Linked DNA regions of Homo sapiens: region 2 is linked to region 1. The links are contacts of gene promoters, found by promoter capture Hi-C in human tissues and cell types (Jung and others, 2019). All regions are on one chromosome and are shown on one strand. The core of a region is centred on a gene start or on the middle of the fragment in contact, and the rest is flanking DNA. Distances in the headings are between cores, read along the strand shown. Region 1 holds the start of SYNGR1 (synaptogyrin 1). Region 2 has its middle 32 kb from the start of TNRC6B.

Region 1 (3,557 bases), core at 36-2,535:
CTTGGGCACCCTGAGGTCACAGCTGGCCTTGGGGTAGCCCCTGGGGTCCCTGACAGTCTAGCCCATTCCTAGTCTAAGCCCACAAGGAACGGGCCCCAGGCCTGCAGAGGCCAGAACCTCGAGTGGGAGTTTCTGGGATACAGCCAGCCAAACCCAGGGAGCCCCAGAAACCCCCTCTCCAGACCCCAGCAGGGCTTCTTTCCATGAGGTGCCACTCAAGGCACCTGAACCCCTCCCTCTGTGCTCACTGTCTCTGACCCATCCTCTCCCTGACCACCCGTCTGAACAAGAGCCCACTCAGCCCTCTGCACTGAGGACCCTGCCCCCCAGCTAGGCTGGAGGCCACCCTGGCCTCTTCACTGTGGGAGCAGACCTTTCTCCCAGACACCCGCCTTGGGCATCCAGGTGCATGCTGAGTGGGAGGGGTGTTACCGGTTCATGAAATGTCAGAGCCCAAGGGGGCCTCAAGAAGGCTCCGCCCACCTTGTCTATAAATTGGGAAACTGAGGCATGAGAGAGGAGATGACACTCCCCACCTCGGAATTGAAGTCCTCATTTCTCGAGAACATTTCCTGGGTGGCTCCCAGCCCAAGGTCACGCAGAGAAGGAGAGGCAGTTCCCGGGTGGAAGAGAGGTACTCAGTTCCCGACTCATCGCTCCACACGGGCCGGGCTAGGCAATACGAACCCGGTTCCCGGCCCTCTCCTCCTCCAACGTCCATCGCAGGCGCGGCATGCACCCCACCGAGATGGTCCACGCCCTGATCCACCCCCCAAAAAAGGCCACCTTAAACCCTGGCTCCGTCCCCACGGTCCCCAGTCCGCCCTGGCGGCCGCGCACAATCCGAGCCTTTCGCGGCATAGCCGCGGCCTGGAGGTCACAGCAATCGGGGCGGGAAGGGGGGCGCACGAACCGGGGGCCCCAGGAAACCAGGGCTCCGGGAGCCGGAGCGGCGTCTCCCGCGAGCACCAGGGATCCCGCCCGCCCCGGGCCCGGGAAGGAGGAGCGGCGGCAGCGGGCCCCGCAGGCAGGACAGCTCCTCGCCCGCCGCCGCGCCGCCGCCGGGGGCCCGTTGGGGTCGGGGTCGGGGTCGGTCCGGGCGCGCCGCCTTTGCTCACACCCCCACCACCCCGGCCTGGCAGAGCCGTCGGCCAGTCCGTCCTTACCCAAGACACGACGCGCAGGATGGTGTGCGGCTGCCGGACCAGGGTGTAGGGGTCGAAGGCGCCCCCGGCTTTGCCCGCTCCGTACGCACCCCCTTCCATCGTGGCTGCACCCGCGCGGTGCCCCCCGCTCGGCGCGCGCCGCCGGCCCGTGCGCGTGCGCGGCGCCCCCGCCCCCTCCCCTGCGCGCGCGGCCGGCGGCCCAGGGCTCCCGCGAGGGGGCGTCGTGCGCGGCGGGCGCAGCTCGCGGGGCGCGGGCGGGGGGCTGGGCAGCGCGCGACCTCGGGCGCGGGGGCGCGCGTGCTGCGGCCCGGGGCTCAGGGCGCGCTCGCAGCCAGTGCGGTGACCTCTTTGCAAAGTGTTTGGGGGAGGGCGGTGCGTGCACAGCAAGTGTGGGCCGTGTCCCTGCCCCGCATCCCCGGTCCCCTGCCCCGGTCGCAGCCCCTCTGAGCCGTCGGCTCTGCTGAAACCATCTTCACGCTTGATTTGTTTGGCTGTTTCCTGCCACTTTGTCGGCCCCAAATATAATGAGAGGGCAGGAGCTGTGTTCGTCCTTCTTAGAGGGTGCTTGGTACGCAGTAGGCGCCGCATGAATATTTCTCGAATGAATGAACCACGAGTGAATGACCCTCTCTTACAGCCCTCCAGAGCAGCCCCCACCTCCCAGGACCACCCTTCCCCTGCCTCTTACGATGACGTCATGTGTGTCCCTGTGCCCGCGCACCCTCCCACCCCCAGCCTGGAGGGGCCTGGCACAGAGGCGGCGGCTGAGACTTCCTCTTCCCCATCCCCTCCTACCCCAGAACGTTGCCCCTTTCCTGAATCTAGCAATTAATTACGCAATCATTTGTTCATGGCCTCTTCTGCTGCTAGTCTGTGAGCTCCCGAGGCCCAGGTGTTGTCTAACTTATTCAATGCCTTACCCAAGGGCCTAGCATACAGTAGGTGCTCAGTAAACAGAGCCTAGTCCCCATCACCCCATCACAGCTTGGGCTAGACCTCCAGGTTTCATGGAAACGGAGGCTAGATGGAGGAGTGCTCCCTGCAGGGGAAGGGCCACCTTCCAGGGCTGGCTCTCCTGCTGCCCTGTAGCTCTATGGCCTCTCTATGTCTGCAGTCACCTTCACTGGTTCCAGGAGCAGGTTGGATGAGGATATGGGTGGAGGCTTTTGCTTCTCTGGTATCCTGCCATTCTGTGATGACAGGACACAACATCTGTGTGGAGGAAATGTGTGCTGGGCCTGAGGGTGCTCCTTATAAAAATTACATAGTCAATGTCCATCTTAGGCTCAGCTGATTGTTTAGTCTCTACCAGGCCTTGTGCTAAGGGCTTTACATACATTTTCACATTTAATCCAGCACACTTATAAGGTGTCTACTATGACTATATAAAACTTTTAGAAGAAAGCACAAGAGAAGGCCGGGCGCAGTGGTTCACGCCTGTAATCCCAGCACCTTGGGAGGCCAAGGTGGATGGATCACAAGGTCAAGTGATTGAGACCATCCTGGCCAACATGGTGAACCCGGTCTCTACTAAAAATACAAAAATTAGCCGGGCGTGGTGGCGAGCTCCTGTAGTCCCAGCTACTTGGGAGGCTGAGGCAGGAGAATCACTTGAACCCAGGAGGTGGAGGTTGCAGTGAGCCGAGATCGCGCCACAGCACTCCAGCCTGGCAACAGAGCGAGACTCCGTCTCAAAAAAAAAAAAAAAAAAAAAAAATCATGAAGAACATGATTCATAAAAGAAACAATTGATAAACTGGACTTTATCAAAATTAAGAACTTCTGTTCTTTAAAAGACATTGTTAAAAGAATGTATGAAAAGACAAACGATAGTCTGGGAGAAAATATTTGCAAAGCATAGATCTAAAGAACTTGCATCCCAAATAAAGAACGTTCGAACTCAATAATAATAAGAGGACCCACTTTTTAAAAAATGGGCAAAAGATTTGAATAGTTATACACCTCACCAAAGAAGATATACACACGGCAACTCAGCACATAAAAAGATGCCCAGCATCCGCGGTGGCTCACGCCTATAATCCCAGCACTTTGGGAGGCCGAGACGGGCAGATCATGAGGTCAGGAGATTGAGACCATCCTGGCTAACACGGTGAAACCTCATCTCTAGTAAAAATACAAAAAAAAAAAAAAAAAAATTAGCCGGGTGTAGTGGCTGTAGTCCCAGCTACTCGGGAGGCTGAAGCAGGAGAATGGCGTGAACCCGGGAGGCGGAGCTTGCAGTGAGCCGAGATCGCGCCACTGCACTCCAGCCTGGGCGACAGAACGAGACTCTGTCTCAAAAAAAAAAAAAAAAAAAAAAAAAGAAAGAAAGAAAGAAAAGAAAAGATGCCCAACATCATTAGTCAGAAATACAAGCTGGGTGTGATGTGG
Region 2 (4,058 bases), core at 991-3,490, 800 kb before region 1:
TTCATCCTCCTTCTGAGGCCCAGACAACCACGAATCTACCTTCTATCTCTACAGATTTGCCTCTTTTGACTTCTCATATATAATTGGAGTGACATAATATGTGGTGTTTTGTGTCTGTCTTTGCTATGGTCTGAATGTGTCCCCCAAAATTTGTGTTGAAAACCTAATCCCCAGTGCAATAGTGTTGGGAGGTGGGGCCTTCTGGAAGGTGTTTAGGTCATAAGAGTTCTGCCTGCATAAATTCACGCTGTTATAAAAGGGCTTGTCAGGGACGCACTGTCGCTTTTTGCCCTTCCACCTTTTGCCACGTGGGGACGCAGTATTCCTCCCTCTTAGAAGCAGGGATTGGGGCCTCCCCTGACAACAGATCTACTGGTGCCTTGATCTTGTTATTCGCGGCCTCTAGAACTATCAGAAAATAAATTTCTGTTCTTTATAAAGTACCTAGTCTGTGGTATTTTGTTATAGCAGCATAAACAAACTGAGATACTGTGGAACCATCAACCATCCATCTCCACAATTCTTCCATCTTTTCCATCTGAAACTCTGTACCCCTTAAACAGTAACTCCCCAGTCCCTGCTCCCCCCAGTCCCTAACAAGCACCATTCCACTTTCTGTCTCTATGACTCTGACTCCTCCAGTTACCTTATATAAGTAGAATCATACGGTATTTGTCTTTTTGTCACTAGTTTGTTTCACTTAGCATATGTCTTCAATATTCATCTATGTTGTAGCATGTGTCAGAGTTTCCTTCCCTTTGTAAGGCTAAATAATATTCCATTGTATGTATATACCACATTTTGTTTATCCATTCACCCTTCCATGGACACTTGGATCACTTCCACCTTTTCGCTATTGTGAATACCTCTAAGTAATATTTAATACAGTAGCCATGTCCACCCTTTTGAAAATCTCTGCCTTGTACTGGACCATCTTCCGTCATTTCTTTTCCTCTCTCTCACCCAATCTTAGAGGCTTTGGATTTATTCCTTTGACTTAGAAAACGTTTCTTGTTCGGGCACGGTGGCTTATGCCTGTAATCCCAGCCCTTTGGGAGGCCAAGGCAGGTGGATTATGTGAGGTCAGGAGTTCAAGGCCAGCCTAGCCAACATGGCGAAACCCTGTCTCTACTACAAACACACACAAAAAATTAGCCAGGCATGGCGGCGGGCGCCTGTAATCCCAGTTATTCAGGAGGCTGAGGTAGGAGAACTGCTAGGGGGAGGAGGTTGCAGTAAGCTGAGATTGCGCCACTGCACTCCAGCCTGGGCGACAGAGCGAGACTCCATCTCAAAAAAAAAAAAAAAAAAAAAAATTAGCCGGGCGTGGTGGCACATGCCTGTAATCCCAGCTACTTGGGAGGCTGATGTAGGACAATGCTTGAATTCAGGAGGCAGAGGTTGCAGTGAGCCAAAATCATGCCATTGGTCTCCAGCCTGGGCAACAAGAGAGAAACTCCGTCTCAAAAAAAAAGACAGCATTTCTCACATATTATTACATGAAAGCTTCCTTCACATCATTCAGTCATCAGCTCTAGGGCCATCTCTTTGATCCAGGGTGATCTTCCCCTACCAGCCCAGCTGAAATACTTCCAGTCACTCCCCAGCATCACACATATCACTACCTGAAAGGCTTATTTGTTCATGTGTCTTATTGTCTGTCTCCCCAACCACGAATGCAAACTTCTTGAGGCAGAGACTTTGAATGTCTTATTCACCAGAAGCCTGGCACAACAAAGTTGTTTGACCAGGATGTGCCGACTTTCCCTTTCTCCTACTACTCCCTAAGCATTTATTTCCCTAGGTTCTGCCCTTGGACCTCTTTCTTCTCATTCTGCCACAGCCATTTCATCTAATCTCACAGTTTCCACTATTAAATTTGAGTGATCCCAATTCTGTTTCCATCCTAACCTATCACGTTTCCAGCCCCACAGTTTCATCAGGCTGACGTTGCCATGCAGATTATATGCCAGCATTTCAAACTCTGTGCTCCATACAGACTGCATCCTATTCACTCCCAAACCTGCTTTTTTTTTTGAGACAAAGTCTCGCTCTGTCACCAGGCTGGAGCATAGTGATGTGATCTTGGCTCACTGCAACCTCTGCCTCCTGGGTTCAAGCAATTCTCCTGCCTCAGCCTCCCAAGTAGCTGGGACTACAGGAGGGCGCCACCACACCCAGCTAATTTTTGTATTTTTAGTAGAGACGGGGTTTCACCGTGTTGGCCAGGATGGTCTCAATCTCTTGACCTTGTGATCCGCCTGCCTTAGCCTCCCAAAGTGCTGGGATTACAGGCGTGAACCACCATGCCCAGCCGATTTATCGTTTTCTCTTTCCTCAACATCGAATAAATTGCTAAATCCTACCCATTTTATAAATATCTCCAACCACACCCTCTACTGCAGGTACTGCAGTTAAAAAGAAAATGTATATATTTTTTGAAAGCTGAGAAGTCAGCTGATATAGTGGATAAAAGAATCAATATTTAACATGGTCTCAACAGACTAAGGAGATGGGTGGAAGCTCCTCAATTTTTTTTTTAAATTGAAGTATAATTCACAAGCAGAAAAATACACACACTTTAAGTGTAGGCTCAATGAATTTTATTTTTATCTCATTTCTCTCTACTTTTGAGACAGGGTCTCACTCTGTCACCCAGGCTGCAGTGCAACGGCACAATTATGACTCACTGAAGCCTTGACATCCCGAATTCAAGTGATTCTCCCACCTTAGCCTCCCGAATAGCTGGGACCACAGGCCTGTGCCAGCACACCCAGCTAATTAAAAAAATTTTTTTTTTTTTTTTTTTTGTGGAGCTAGATAGGGTCTCTCTGCCCAGGCTGGTCTGAAATTCCTGGGCTGAAGTGATCCTCCAGTCTTGGCCTCCCAAAGTGCTGGGATTACAGGCATGAGCTACTGAGCCTAGCCTTAATGATTAATTTTAGATATGGTTGTACCTTCAAGCAACATATAGATTGAGACAGAAAATTTCCATCTCCCCAGAAAACTTCTACATGCCCCTTCCCTTGAAGATCGCCCTATTAACTATAAATGGGATTGACATGTTCGAAAGCTTAATATCACTGGGATCTGACAGTATGTACCACTTTTATATCTACATTTTTTCACTCGGTATAATGTTTCTGAGATTTATCCATGTTGTTACACTGATCAAGAGTTCATTTTTTTTTTTTTTTTTTTCCGAGACGGAGTCTTGCTCTGTCGCCCAGGCTGGAGTACAGTGGCACAATCTCGGCTCACTGCAAGTTCTGCCTCCTCGGTTCACGCCATTCTCCTGCCTCAGCCTACCAAGTAGCTGGGACTACAGGTGCCCGCCACCACGCCCGGCTAATTTTTGGTATTTTTAGTAGAGACAGGGTTTCACCATGTTAGCCAGGATGGTCTCGATCTCCTGACCTCGTGATCCGCCCGCCTCGGCCTCCCAAAGTGCTGGGATTACAGGCGGGAGCCACTGCGCCCAGCCAAGAGTTCAATTTTTAAACTTAGTAGTGTTCCACTGCACAGACAAACTATAATTTGTTTATTCATTAGATAGACAGCTAGCTATTTCCAGTTTGGAGCTGCTATAAATAAAACTGCCATGAGCATTTTCATATAATGTGTTTTTGCAAATCTATGCAGTCATTTCTATGGAGTATACACCTAAGAGAATGTCTGCCTTATAGGGTGGAAGTTCGTTTAACATTATTTAGAAGCTTATGAAACAGTTCTTTAAGTGGCTGTACCATTTTACACTCCTTCCAACAATGTCTAAAAGTTCCAGTTGCTCCACATTCTTGCCAACACCTGGTATTATTAGTCTTTTGAACTGTAGTCATTTTGGTGAGTGTATAATGGCATTACATTACAGTTTTAATTTGTATTTTGCTCATGAATAATGTTGAACATCTGTGTTTTCATAACCATTTGGATGCCTTATTTTGTGAAATGCCTAGTCTTTTGTACATTTTTGAGTTGTTTGACCTTTTCTAACTGATTTTTGGTAATTCTTTACATACTCTGGACATGAGACTTTTATTAGAAAGATGTATTGCAGA

What was found. Contacts are between HindIII fragments. The study calls those that stand out against the background at their distance.
Region 2: a fragment that was not itself captured here is called in contact with the fragment with the promoter of SYNGR1 in region 1 in 1 of the 25 tissues and cell types used here (dorsolateral prefrontal cortex).

The regions. Positions count from the first base shown.
Region 1 is chr22:39,347,719-39,351,275 of GRCh38, reverse strand. It overlaps SYNGR1 (synaptogyrin 1), which reads right to left and starts at 1,285. Exons shown (of 4, transcript NM_004711.5): 1 at 1,167-1,285. The coding sequence starts at 1,265. RefSeq lists a silencer at 1,079-1,238. The HindIII fragment of the contact is 13,153 bases long and covers 1-3,557 here.
Region 2 is chr22:40,143,820-40,147,877 of GRCh38, reverse strand. It overlaps a transcript of TNRC6B not described here. Among named protein-coding and RNA genes, the nearest start is that of TNRC6B, 32 kb to the left of the region's middle. The HindIII fragment of the contact is 4,470 bases long and covers 6-4,058 here.